2 separate regions of the Homo sapiens genome follow, and region 1 is linked to region 2. The links are contacts of gene promoters, found by promoter capture Hi-C in human tissues and cell types (Jung and others, 2019). All regions are on one chromosome and are shown on one strand. Each heading gives the region's core, a stretch centred on a gene start or on the middle of the fragment in contact. The rest is flanking DNA. Distances are from core to core; before and after follow the strand shown.

Region 1 (7,065 bases), core at 564-3,063, 80 kb after region 2:
TGCTCTCGTAAGCTGTGGCTCAGAGTGGGTCCATGGGTTTCTGGGGAAATATGGTCAGCTAGCAGACAACAGGAGATGACAATGCCTCAACCATGTTGGCCTTAAAGGTCCAACGATAAATGCCTCTTGATCATCTCTTTTGAGGAAACATCAAGACTCCTGACAACCTTAGTTGCCCCCCTCTGTCAAGTGCTATGTGTTAGCAGGACAAGAAAGTTCAATGAATCAGACGTATCTGAGGACCTCTACCAAAAACAGCTTTTAGGGGCATCTGTATCCCTCATCCAGACCACTTTGCTGCTTTCGATTCTCAGAACTGAGAACCAGAGACTCATGGGGCCAGATTCTTGGCATCTCATTCACCTCTCTTGCTCTAGGAATGGCTGACCAAACAACCCCAGAAGATAGGAAAAACTCTTTGTCTAGTAATATTTGATACCTTTCAGTACCAGGAAATTTCTCCTGTAAGTTTAACCCAAACCTCATATGCAGTAGTTGGAGCTTTTCTTCTTATGCAGTTCTCAGCACAGCTGAGGATTTGAACAGCTTTTGTTTCTCTGGTCTGCCCTACAATTTCTCCCTCTATGGTACTTTCTTCCTATAATTGCACCTGCTTTTTGCCCCTTGGCTTCTCTTTAAGTTCTGTCTGTCCTTCTTAATTTCAGAAGCATAGAAGAACTATCCAGGATACAGTCAACACTAAACCATTCCCTTTAAAACCAGTAATGGGTAACACTTGTTAAGTATCGAGAATGTGCCCAACACATACTAGGAACCATAAGCACATTCTCCTGTTTAATCTTCACAACAATCCTATGAGACAGGTAATACATCCATTTGGCAAATGAGAACATTAAAGTTCTGAGACACTAAATGACTTACTCAGCATCACTCAATGGTATGTCCCGGACCCTGGATTTAATTCAAGGCAGTCTACCTCAGAGCACACACTCTTAACCACTTGGTCTCCTCACCTGGCTGAATCCTAAGCGGCAAGTTACAATCTCAGACCAGATTCTCCTGCCACTCAGCAGGTCAGGGGGCACCTAGCAGTGTTCAGAGGATACCAATCCACTCTAGAAATCACTAAAACAAAATAGAAGTATGGGGTGGCCCTCCTGCTACAAAAGAGACGTGCCATATTTCAGAGCCAAACAGACAGATGCCCTGGGCACTTTTCATCAAGTCTCTCTGTCCAGATGCCTGCACTCCAGAAAGAAGTCATCCTCCTTCCTTCCATTTCCCTTTGATTTCTTGCTAGAAGCATCAGCCTAGTTGTCTTTTGTTCAAAATGTGTCTCCCTTTGACTTTATATCCTTTCCAGCAGCTTCATACTTGGGTCAGCTCCGTCCTACCCTGGATTGAGGACAAGGGGTCAATCTCCAGGTAAACTCTTGTAAGCTTTGCTTGTTTCATAGTCCTGGATGGATCTCATAAGTCCCACTCATTCTCTTGCAATAATAGTTTGATCAATGGTCACAAACTGGTTTAAGTGACTGGAATCACTCAAACTTATTCCATTGATAAAACAACTCTATGTGTACGTTCCCCTGTATGGCTTATCTTACATAAAGTGAGGAACTTAGACCAGATGGTCTCTAAGGGAACTTCTGGCTCTGATGCACTCAGGCTTACAGAATACTTCCTATAACAGATTACCTGGAATCCGATTTAGAACAAGGCCCATTCCATACCAGGGCTCTGGGGCTCTTAACACAATAGTAGTTGGCCCCATTATCTTGAAAACAAACAATGCTTAGAATCCAACAAAGGTCCCCTGATTCCTTGGGTAGTGAATCTCTTTGGCAGGATCTCAGTGTGGTTCTAGCTGCTTGGTGCCAAGTTAGAGCCTTTGCCTCTCTCCCTGGCTCGCGCTCCCTCATCCCATCCCCTTCTCCAGTCACTCATCATCCTTTGTATTAGCACATCACAGTGCAGACACTTCCTATCTGTTTCAGCCCACAGTGAGGTCCCTTGAGGACCTGCAGCCTCAGCTTCTGAGGCATAACTAATGATGGGGGCCAGCTGCCTCACCAGAGCCAGCAAATGATGGTGCCTCTGGCTGCTCAGGGAAAATAAGACATTCTTGAGCCATGGTGAGGGGTAACTCAGGTGTGGAAATAGCCAATTACCCTATTAATCAGACTGAGCAACCAGCTGTGTCATGAGTTAAAACCATGCCTCATTGTAATTGTTCCATGTCTCGCAAGTGTGGACTGGTGGGCATTTGATTTGCATATACTACCAAAGGAGGAGAGAGGCCTAGGTGAGAGGGTACGGTGGATGGTTTCACCTCATTTATACTCATCTTGAAAGAGAACTCAGAGCTGGACTCTTACTCCTATTGCCCAGATGGATTTTAAAGAGACACGGGACCTCACTGTGAAATGGTACTCCCGGTAACTAAGGTGAGATTACAAAGCAGGCAATTCCTATCTAGAGTTAACTGAACATACTAACAAGCTTTCTGTGTTCTTTCAACTACCAATAGGAACCAGACTTCCTGTTTTCTCTTCACTATGGAACTCACCTATTTTAAGATAGTCTCCCTTCATCCATTCTTGATTCCTAAGCTTCTACTTTTTCAGTAAAAGTTCCTGCTTTTCAAGAAGTTCTTTTGAAGTCCTACCCTGGTTTGAACAACTTGTTGAGAATTCAGCAACTTGAGGCATGCCTGTTAGAGGAGACCACACCACCAGGTGAGCCACCTCAAACCCCCACACTGCCTCCTGGCAGGCAGCCTTCTGGAGGTGTCACCTTGGCACCCTGGCTGGGCCAGCTGCCACCCAGCAGGAGTTAATGACGTGGTATCAGTCAAGTTAGGCAAACTGGGGTTAGCACAGGCAAGGTTACTCCCAAGGTTACCGCTGCGACTCACCACTGTACATGTCAGGGTGGTTTCTTAAGGACGAGTCATTATAAGGGTGGTCTGTAACAAACAAAAGAGGGTGAGCAAACAGGAGGCCACGGAGAAGTCACAGAGGCATAAACGGGGAGAGAAAACAAATGCAAAGCCAGAAAAACAACTGAGGAGGGCAGCAGTGGTCTTTTGCAAAGGAAAGACACGGCATATTTGGAAAGGCAATACGCTCAGTGAAGAACAAGCAACACAAAACAGCCCACAAAAGGAGAAAAAAAGGTTAAATCCTGCAAAAGAAGGCAATAATACAGTAATGGTTTTTTTAAAATTAAAGAAATTAGGTTTGAACTTTAATTAATTGGTCCTGCTATATTTTCAAACAAATGAGAGAAGGATTAGTGGTGTCCTGTAGCCATCTTTTGAACAACTCCTTCTTATCAAAATCCTCAGTTCCCAGGACTCTGGGTCAGGCTAGCTCTTGGAGCAGCTAAAGAGAAAGGAGTGTTAGTGAGCTCCGGGGAAGAGCAAAGTGCTGCCTGGGCAGAAGCTAAGCTGCAGGAGGTTGGTGGTAAATGGGAGGAGGTCATTGACCAAAAGAGTTGGGCCAAGGGGCCCTGGCCACACCCAGCAACATGTGTCACTGGAGTCTGCCCAGGTGGGCACCACTATGATCTTGGAGATGTCTCTGTTGGCAGAAAGCCCTCCTTGTGAGGATGCCGGGAGAGGTTCAGTGAGGTGGGGAGAACATCCCTGAGGTTCAGGCTTTAGAATTTAGAATTGGAGCTTGGGACAGGAGAAAGTGCAAGCTGTGAGTTCTACATTTCAGACTAGGAAAGTCCTCCTGAACGTTCTGGAGGTTCGAAGCTCTCTAGACTATGCAGGATTGAAGACATTCCTTATGGAGCAAGATCAGTGGCTTCAGTTCCAATGTTAGGTAATTCAAACTCGTGGGCATTTACTCCTTAATGAGAAAGACATTTCAGAAGAGGACACATCATCACGCCAGCGTCCTGAAGGAGCTTTTCCCTCTCTACCTCTGGTCCCTTCCAGCAACTGGGTTCAAATTGTGACAGTACTAAAAGGGGGTGGGGTATACAGCTGACTGGAAGCCAAGCAGATGGCCCTGAGGAGGCAAGAACATGGTCCAACTGCTCGAGGGACAACAGGGGCTCTGCCAAAACATTTGCATATTTGTCGACAGATCCAATCCCATTACAACTAGTTGCAAGAAGTATGAGAGTCCTTTTCTGGGACTGGCATTGCATTGCATCCCAAATCTGCTTGCCACCTGGTAGGAAGATTTTCATTATTCAGAACTCTCTCTTAAGATGGGGTTTGTTGTAAAGACCCAGCCTGTTTGGGAAGTCTGCTTGGGTCCATCTGGAGCTAAAGGCAGGAATAAATCCACAATGTAACGAAGAGATGGGGTGGCCCAAGGGCAGGTGGGGGCTGCAGCTGGGCTTGGGAGGCAACTCTGTTCCTCTCCTGGGGGTGGATGGTGGCACATACAGATGACAGGGCCCTTCCTTCATGCTCCCATATCACCAGGTGAAATGTAACCTATCTCTCTCCAGAGAAGTAGCCCACGCCCAGAACTGACCTCGTGGTTTGTGAATTCTGGAGCACATGTGAGAAATTCACGGAAACTTCTTTGACTGCTCCAAGAATGTCACTTAGACACTGGAGGAAGAAGGGGTGTGCCCTGGTGTCTGCCTTAGGGAGGACCCTCCTCGCTTACCACAGTTGCCTCTTATTGCATCAGGAGGCACCCAGCACCTGTTACAGCATAGGCAGAGTGGGACGGGCCCAGCTCTGTAGCCCAACTCCACTGCTTATCTTTGACTGCATCCCAGGTTTTAAAAATGATTTCAGATTACCCAGTATTTTGCATTACATACCATTGTCAACTTCCTTCAATGCAGGTAATAAAAATGGGACATGATGAGATTTATTTCTTCCCAAATGGGCAAACTGTGACAGGAGTGCCTGGTGAGAATAGGGCCTTTGAAGCTGCCCCTGCCTGACTGCTTTGCCTCCCACCCCAGACCTGGTTCTGAAGGTACAAGAGAAAGCCTGTGTCCTCTCCAGACAGGAAAGTAGAGAGAGCACCACTGTGCTATTTTAAGCAAGTGTGCCCAATTCTGGGCTGGCTCAGATGCCCAGAACTTGCTCCCAGCCAGAGCTGCCCCTGGGAGAACTCCAGGAAGCTGATGGGGCTCTGTTCCAATCACCTAGGGGGTCTCTCGCCATTCGGAGGAAAGAGTTTTCAGTGGAATAGAGGACCTAGAAATGAAGAATTAACAAACATCCCTTACTTCTTCTGGTAGAGAAGAGTGTTTCTGGAAAGTCCAAGTTCTACATGTTGTTTAAATCTCTAACTGCAGAGGAAGTTAGTTAATTCTACAGAGGAAGACTCTTCACCACCTCAGTCTCTTGGCCTCTGCTCTACTCTGTGTGACAGTGATGGGCTCTGCCCAGGATGACAGAAGGTCAACTGACTCAGTTCCAAAAGCAGCAGGCCGATTTCTAGCGTCGTCTGGGCAAGGAGAGAGGGGCCCTGGTGGTGATGCTGATGGCTGTCCAGGCTCAGCTCAGCGAGCATGTTATCTTGTTCTTGACATCCCTGCTCCTCCCCCTGCCAATGCTGTTAGTCCTGTCCTGGCTGCTGAGGCCACTCCGAGGTCCTGGGCAGACTACACTGTCCTTCCCAGCCCAGCCAGCTGGCAGGCAGTCACCCTGATGTGGACTGAGGAGACACTGCAGACAAACCAACTTTCTCCTCCAAGGGGTCTCCCTGGGCTTGGGTCAGGAATGAGAAAGTCAGGGACGGGGGAGCAACTGGAGTGAAGCCAGGTCACCCTGCCAGGAACTCGAGGGGCTTGCTGCAGGTGTCAGGCAACCTGCCGGCTACCACCTTTGGCAGCCCAGCACCAACACAGATCAGTGTGTGGGGACACTGCAAGGCAGGAGGCGATGATTAGAGGAGGGCAGAATGGAGTTCCAAGACAGAACAGAGAGATGGAAAAGAAGAAAGAAAAAGAAAGAGGGAGGAGAAATAAAGAAGGAAGTGAAAAAGAAAAAGGAAGAAAATGAAAAGGTGAAAGAAAAAAAAAAACATGAGAAGGGGAAGAGAAAAGGAAGCTGCTTCCTTTTGGATCCACCTCTGTGCCATGGTGGAAATGGAGCATGGGGCTGTGTTGGCTCTCAGGACCACCAGCCTCTGCCATCAGCAGGGATAGGGAGGAAGGAAGAGAACGATAATGGTCACACCCCCTACCTGTCCTGAATGAGAAGTGATCTCACCTGAACCTCTCCTGACCCACACCCACCCGGGGAGCCATTGTTCACCACCTCTGCAGGGGCTCCAGGAAGCCAGGGTCAGCCTATTTTTTCTGACCTTTGCAAACTGCCAGCACCCACATGGTGCTCTCTACTGGCCTCCCCAACAATCCTCACTGTCCAGAGCATCAGAAACAACACTCACAGCATGAGTCAGACTAAGGTCTGTTTTTTGGGGGGCTCCTTTATGGAAGGCGTGTTACAAATCCATGGTGTACATCAACATAGACAACTTCCAACGTCCTGAGTGGGCTGAGACTTTGCAGCAAAAGCTCTAGGCTGCCTCGTCCTTGCCAAGAAGAACATTTCTGACTAAGCTTCTCTCTCTCCTCAAGGGAGAGCCACCAACACTATAATGGGTCGGGAAATGCTGATTTGCTTTTGTACCAGCCAAACAGAATCAGGGAATAGAAACGAAAACAAATAAAACTCAAACATAAGCCTGCAACTTACAAACATAGCGATTCCATATGGTTCAGCATATACATATTACAGAATCAAATAAAATTTATTTTGGTGTCTCCACTAATTTTCATATTTTCTGCTATGGGTTTCTTATACAAATAAAGATAACCAAGCAATGAGAAGAAATAAAAGAAATAATCAAGCTGTGTCCGGAGAGGGGTTCTAGATGACCACTGGAAGCAGTGGTTCTCAAACTCTGGGGTGCACTTGAATTACCTGGAGGGCTCATAAAGAACAAAGAGGCTCAGGGCTGTTGAGGTACGATAGGCTGGTTCTGGGTACGCTGCCAGGTTCTAAGGTGATTCTGATTCCCACCAGAATTTGAGGAGGATTGACTTAGAGTAGGACCAAGTTTAACTCAAGGTTTCACAATCAAGAGAGATCGTTTAAGAGCAGCTGAA
Region 2 (7,492 bases), core at 394-2,893:
CCTTCTCCCAAGGCCAGGAGTGAGGGCACCTGTTGTGACCTCCAGGCCATCTCCCTGTCCAGGTGCGATCACAGCAGCCTCTCCCACAGGTGGCCCACCTTTTGCTGCACTCGATCTCCAGTGGCTCATCCGGCCCCTCTGAGTGGGACCAGGAGGTAGAGAGACTCGGAGGCTAAGTGAGCTGAGGCGTCTTTGGCCAGACGGTTGGGAGAGGAGGCCGAAACTGTTGCCCAGACGAGACCAGAACATCACCTGTGCACTGGGTTTCTTGGGCTGTTCCTCCTCCCAGCTCCTTCTGAGCAGAGGGAAAAGATGCTGAAACCCACCTTTCTCCAGGGCTGGGGCCATGGCATGCACAACCCCACTCCCTCCTGGCCTCACTGGACCCCCCCCCCCAGGACACAGGCTCAACCCCCAGGGGTCTGGGGCTAGAGGGTGCCCGTCTCCATCCCCAAGTAGCAGCAGGATTCTCCCCTTCCATAGGCACTGCCTTCTCCATGCCCCGCTGCTTCCCAGACCTGAGAGACCCTCTTGGAGAAGGTGACAGGATTCAGCTCTGGACACTCACTGGCTGGGGCTGCCCCCCACCTCCAGCCCATTATGTAAGCCCCACGGTGCTGGGCAGAAGGATTGCCCTCTCTTTCCAGAACTCCCCAGCTCTGCCCCTTCCCTTCCCCATACCATTCTGGCCCCAGCCCCTTTCCTTACTGGAAAGCCAAACTTTGTGCAAATTCTTCCCTCCCACCAGTGAGGATGGGGGGGAGGGATTTGAGGAGAAGCTAAGGTTGGGAGGGGGAAGGGAAGGAAAGGAATTTCAGCCCGGTAGCCCCAGCCTCTCGCCCTTTGGGATGTGACTGGCCTCAGGACTCTCCTCCCCGAGTCCCAGTTCCTGGACAGGCCCTTGCCCAAACTTGTGCTCCACTCTCCCCTCTCTCTTCCACAGCCCCCCTCTCCATCCAGCTGAAGCAAGACTTTGCAAAGAGGTCACCCTGCAGAGGTAGACCCTGGGTGACCTCAAAACTGGGGACTCCGGCTCAATTCCATGCAGGGACTTCTGGGGCAGGCCAGGGCCCAGGGCCTGGCTGTATGGACTGGTCCTGTCCTGGACCGGGTGCCCAGGGCCGGCCCAGGAGAAACTGCCCTCTCCACAGGCAGCTGCCACTGCCCGCTGGCCAACTGGAATTCCTGGACACACTCCTGGGGTCCAGCTTTTCGGCCAGGCTCGGCCTGAGAGAGCCCTGCGGGATGCCGCCCACGTAGACAGGGCGGAGGGGAGCCCCAGCACCCACCCTGGGGCTGAGGGGAGAAGTCAGAACGGCCCCAGCCTGCCAGTGTTCCTGTCCCTGTTCCCTCCCAAGTTACAAGGGGGATATTTACAGGAACTGAGCCGGGAGCCCCGGCCCATAACAGCACGCAGGGAAGTCCCTGGGTTGGAGGAGACAAAAGCGGTTGGCACCTACCTGGGGCGAGAGAAGGGTGTTGGCTGGGGCAGGTGGATGCTGCCCGAGTCGGTGAGCCGGGGCCGGCCGGGCCGCCAGCCCCTGTCTGGGCCGCTGTCCTTTGGGCCCTGGCGGCCTCAGCCGCTCGCTGTCCGGGTGCGGCGGCGGCCGCGGCGGCGGTGGCGGGTGAGGGCGCGTGTGTGTGAGCGCGCCCGGAGCCACTGCAGCATCTCTGCATCAAGATGTGCTCCTCCCTCTCCCAGGCTCCGCTCACTGGCTGGCTCTGGTCCTCAGCCAACGCTCGGGGGCCCTGGAGATGGCTTCCTTCTGCCCCCCTCCCACCCCACTTCCGTCCCCACCCTCCTGGCTTTACCTCATTTGCTGTCATTTAAGGACCAGGGAGCGAGCCCAGCGCGCGTCTTCCATAATGCATGGGCCGCTCATGGACAGGCCGCGGGGCGCTGTCTGGCCCGCCTGCCCTCCCGATCCTGCCCAGCCCCACTTCTAGTCCCCCTGCCCAGGGCTGAAGGGGCAGGAGAGGGGCGGGGTGAAGAGGGAAAAGAAAGTGGCTCTTACTCCTCAAACCCTGGAGACCCATGGAGCCAAAACTCCTGGTTTCCCCAGAAATCCCCTATCCGAGGAAGAGATCCAAATCAGAAATCCCAGCTTGCTGTGTGGGGCAAGTGGCAGGGAGGGGCTGTCTCTGTTGCCCGGTCCACCCCATGTTCCTCTTTATTGTTTCCCTTGTTCAAAAGTAGTTTGAGCTTTTTGTCAAAATATCTAAATATTAGAGGACATTTAAAAATACATAGTGAAAGTCCCTCAACCACTACTCTTAATAAATCTAAGTACATGCCCCCAGGTTTATTATTTTCGTGTATACAATTACATGGGTTAGTAGGGTTATTTCACACAAATGTGATTACATAAAACAGTAGGATTGGCCAAAGACTTTTAACTGTGTAACTGATCTTGGACACTTTTACGCATCAGTACGTTTGGATCCAATCCCATTTTTAAGCAACCAGCAGTGTGATGTCATGAAAAGCTCCCTGGATTAGGGGTCTGGGTGTCTGAAGCATACTCTGGGCTCCACAACCGACTGGCTGTGTGTGCTTGGCTAGGTGCCCTGCCCTCTCTGAGCCTCGCTGGTACCTGAAGGGATTAAAGATGGACACAGTCCTGCCAGCTCTGAGATTCTAAGTGCTCACCCTTGTCAGCGATGCCTTTCTCCTGCCCTGCTCCGGTCACGTGGGGGAGTGCCCAGGAAGGCTGTGGCCCGGAGGCGGAGGGACCAGCCATCTGCGGCACCAGTCGGCCCTGTCAGGCTGTCACTGTTGTCTCACCCCCCTCTGATCTGCCTGCTGTCCAGCTTGCACAGGCAAGACCGGTGAGCAGTCCAGATGCTGCAACAGCTGGCAGGGCCAGGCCAGCCTCCCAGTTTTAAATGGCTATACCTGTCAAGCCTGGATCATGGCTCCATGTCTCCCTGAGTGGAGGAGGTCCTGGGGACCTGGGCCAGAATGAGAGGGTCTGGAAAAGGAGAAGGAGTCGGGGAGGTTCTGCTGCTCAGCCTCCAAGGCTGGAATGTCTGCCCAGGTCCCACATGCGCTCCCCTCCTTTCCTTCTGAGCCCCTCCAAAGGGCTTGCCCAACTTGAGAGATAGTCTTCTTTGTTCCTGATGGGGAGGACTTGGATTTTGCTAATGATGTTTCTTAAATAATGTTGAATGCTGTTATATAGACAGACACATCAACCCCTTGCCAGGATATCTTTCCCTTCCTTCCCCTGCCCACACTGTCCTTGCCTATCTGTATGTCTGAGGGCTGGCACATTGGCTCTGAGCTCCTGAGGTGAACCTTGCTCTTTGGCACCATTCAAGTCAGCCTGGGCTCCAAAGAGAGGCTCTGCAAGTTCTCTCCTAGCAGAAAACGGCAGGAACAAGTCCTTGCCAAGAAAAGGATGCTATGTCTGCTGCAGGGGGCTGACGGGCCAGGAAATAGGCTGGCCCAGGAACCAACAGTCTGGAAATGCTTGCAAGGATTGCTTTAGACGGAGACAGCTGTCTTTGTGACTCTATTTTAGGACAGCTGCTGCCCTGTGGTGGGAGCTGGGTCTCTGGGGAGGGTCGTTAGCACAGGTGACTTGGGTCTTAAAGACTCTCAGATCTCAATGCAACCAGCATGCTCCATGTGGACTCTGGCAGACACAATAAGTGAAAACAAGAACATTTGCCAAGCCTAGACTTGGATGGGGAGACAGTTCCCAAAGTCTCATCTTCTCACTTGTCTGAAGCTCTCAGTGAAGTCTAGTATGAATGAGTTTGGGGAGATTAGGGGGATCTGCACTCCCAGTCTCTGAGATGCTCCTGTTCCTGAGGAGAGAGTGGGGTGGGCATTTGGGGGTGCAGGCTGAGTTTTGCTTGTGGGGCCCATTAGCTTGATAATAACAGAAATAATATCTGTTTTGAATGCCTCCCACATGCCGGGAGCTGTGCTAAATGCTTTACCTGAATTACTTGCGCAAGAGGTCCATGTTGTTATTATCCTCACTTTTCAGATGTTGCTCAGTAAGAGTAAGGAACTTGCTCAAAAGAAATAGTAAACAAGTGGAACCCTGGGCAACGTGGCGAAACCCCGTCTCAACAAAAAACACACAAAAATTAGCCAGTGTGGCAGTGCACACCTGTAGTCCCAGCTACCTAGGAGGCTGAGGTAGAAAGATCACCTGAGCCTGGGAGGTTAAGCCTGCAGTGAGCTGTGATCGTGCCACTGCACTCCAGCCTAGATGACAGAGTGAGGCCTGGGATCGGCCTCCAGCATCCTGGCTTAGCCACCGTGCCATGGACTCCAGCTACCTACTGTCTGTTCTTTTGAGGTGGGCAAAATAGGGGGCAGAACAGTTTCTTCTTCTTTGGTGACATCCAGAGCCCACAATCTTCAGTGCAGCTGACCATAAGGGCCACCTCTCCTTTCTGTGGCTGATCAATATGACTCCATGTTGTCCAGAGCTGGGACTCCACATCTCAAAGTTGAGTCCCCACAGACTTTCAAACAGGGCAAGAAAGGGCCAGTGAAGATAATCAGGTGGCTAGTCAAATGGCTTATAAATTTGTCCGCAAACATGTGGTGCTCCCTTGGTGGTGGTGGGTGGGGATCAGAAAGCATTTTGAGGGCCACCCAACCCTGCCCAGACCATCTGCTTCTTCCTACTGTAGCCACACAAGATTGATAGCAATGGAATCCAGTGGGTCTCTAACCGATCAAGAAGGGACCTCTAGGCCCCATCCCTGGGGACAAGTGGGGAGGAGATGAGACCCTGCCATGGCCCCAGGATGCTGCAGCTTTGCTGTCTCTTTCCTCACCACTCCCCCGCCTCACCTCTCCTTTCCTGGCCTCTCCCGCCACCAGCATCTTTGCCCAGACCCTTTTCCCAGGAGGCCATGTATTTATGGAGCAGCTCCTCTGCCTGGAATGTAGGGATCCAAGAGCCAGGGGATGCGGTCTTCAAAGTGCCAGTGACCTTTTTGGAAGCAGTGTGACAGTGGTAACAGGACTGTCCATCCACAGCTCTGGGGAAAACTGATATGGCCATAAGGAAAAGCTCTGCAGACAGACCCGTTTGACACCCAGTCCTGCTACTGAGGAGATGTGAGGCCATGGGCAAGCCACATACCTCTTCACCCAGAATATGGGGATGAAGACACATACCTCACTGAGTTGATGTGAGTGTTGAGTTACACGTGAAGTAGCTAGCACAGCAGGTGCTCAATAAATGTCAGTATTTCCCTTTTGGGATTTAGCCTCCCTCATCTGTAAAACAAGGATATGAGGCAGAGCAGTAAGGGCTGCAAGTGGTTGGGGTGGCTCTGGATTTGTAGTCAAGAGAACTGGACTCTGTCCCAGCTCTGTCACTCCTACCTGGATGACTCTGGGCAAGTAACAGAATGACACTTAATCGCCCAGATAATCCATTTCTTCACCAGTAAAATAGGAATGATCCTACTCCTATCTAGGATGGTAGTGAGGATATGTGAATTAAACATAATGGTTTTTAAAAGCACTTTGAATTGCAAAGTGCCATATCAAATACTGATGGCCATTCCCTCAGCTATGCAGTCCAAAAGGTAGGGATTATCTCATCAGTCCGTATTCTCCCAGTCCCCCACCCTCCTGTTTAGCACAGTGCCTGGTGCATGGTGGAGACTCAATAAATATTTGTTGACTGGGTGAATGAATGAAGGAGAGTAGCTATAGTAACCATTCAGAGGATGAGGAGAGAGGGAGGTAGGATGTGGGTGAAGCTTTCAGTGGGGGTGGGTGGGTGCATCTTGAATTGAGCCTGGATGGACAGAGAGGAGGTGGGGAATGTGTTTCTGGCATGGGGGCATGTGGTGTGGCAGGAGCCAAGATGTGGGGCCTGGGAAGGCCATGATTTGTGTAATGCCTGGAGAAGCCAAGTTGACCTAGCAGGGGTGCTGGAAGGAAGATCTCAATGCCCTGTCTGCATTTGCCTTCCTAATTTCATGTGAGGGCCCAGAGGGGTCTGTGGCCTGGAGGGGCCTAATTATTCTCTTTGCCATTTCAACCCAGGGCTCTTGCAGCTCCTTTTTCAGGCTTATAATAGATGATGCTAATGTCATTATTAATATTTAATAGTAATGATGCTAATAATGCCCTGCATTTATGTGGTCTCTCCAAAGAGCTCAAAGAACCCTGAGTTCTTTTTTTATGAAACAATTTGGCTGGTGTGGAAGGTGGGAGGGCAGGAGGGCAGGACAGTAGAGAGGGATTGAGTCACAAAGAAAGCAAAGCCAGAAAGGTGAAATGATTGGGCCAAGGTCACAGAGCAGTGGAGGTGGGGCTGGGCTAGGACTGGGTGCGTGGGTTCCCTGCCTGGAGCTCTGTCCTTGACTGCCCCAGGTCATCTGGGTTTAAGGAGGACGTTCCTGGTGGGGACATCTTTTGGTCCCGGTAAAAGCCATGCCATCCAGAGGATATGACAGAACAGTCTTGGGGGCAGCTGTGACCCTGGAAGTGGGCTGGGCTGAAGAGTCGATAACCTTTTGCTCTGTCTGCCCTTTACTAAGCCTGCCCGGGGTGGCTAATAGGCAGCCATGGAACATGGGAGCTGGAAGGGGCAGGTGGGGACATTGGAGTCCTTTACTAGATTCTGCAGGCCTCCCTGAGCCTTAGGCCAGACCCCTGTTTTCCAGGATCTCTGGGTGTCTGATGTACAACCTCTTGGAAGCAGTTTCAATCAGCCCACGTCAATGTGGAATCTCGGGGCTGCTGTGTAGCGTTACACAGGGAGCTCCTTCATGAAGAACAATGTCAGTGGTGCCCCCGGGAAGGAGACAGTGCAGAGTGGTTGGAAGGCCTTGGAGTCAGACAGATCTTGATTCCAATTCCACCCACCTTATTGATTGGCTGTGTGACCATAGGCTTCTAAGACTCAATTTCATCATCTGTAAAGTGGAGGAGAGGCTCTGCTTCAGAGAGCTGCGTGGATCAGCCGAGGCGAGGTACACATACATGTTGGACAGTGGAGGAGGCAGCGGGCATTTCAAGGTTCTGGCATCAGTGAAGGGAGTGTCCAGTGTGGGTGATGCCAGCGGTGGCGTCCTGGCTGGACGTTGCCCAGATGTGACCTCAGCCTGTCTCTGCTGGCTGGCCTGTGTTGGCTCCTGCCCATTTCTCAGTCGACTTCTTTAGTCTTTCCATTGATTCTGTGATCGACTTGATAGCCTTCTGGTGAATTCCATTTCTGTTTACAATGGCCAAAGTCTATTTATGCTGCCTGCAACTGAGAACCTAGACTGATTCAGGACTGAAAGCTTCTAGCACAGTGTTTGGCACAAAAGATGTGTTCAATAAACAATAACCAGAAATTGTTAGAAAATATGGTATTCATTCATCCATTCACCTATACCTACATACATTCATTTAACAAGCAAATGCCAAGTACCTCTTGTATCAGGTATTGCACCAAGTGCTGGGATACAGAGGAGAATAAGGCACGGTGAGTGCTCATGAGGAGCTCACAGTTTAATG

What was found. The method cuts DNA at HindIII sites, captures the fragments that hold promoters and counts their contacts. A contact is called where the count stands out against the background at its distance.
Region 1: a fragment that was not itself captured here is called in contact with the fragment with the promoter of CNTN2 in region 2 in 2 of the 25 tissues and cell types used here (bladder and spleen).

What each region holds. Positions count from the first base shown.
Region 1 is chr1:204,957,972-204,965,036 of GRCh38, reverse strand. All of the region lies in intron 8 of NFASC (neurofascin), which reads right to left. Among named protein-coding and RNA genes, the nearest start is that of CNTN2, 82 kb to the left of the region's middle. The HindIII fragment of the contact is 5,464 bases long and covers 1-4,545 here.
Region 2 is chr1:205,037,363-205,044,854 of GRCh38, reverse strand. It overlaps CNTN2 (contactin 2), which reads right to left and starts at 1,643. Exons shown (of 23, transcript NM_005076.5): 1 at 1,461-1,643. RefSeq lists cis regulatory regions at 1,785, 1,877 and enhancers at 1,713-1,857, 1,805-1,949. The HindIII fragment of the contact is 16,049 bases long and covers 1-6,509 here.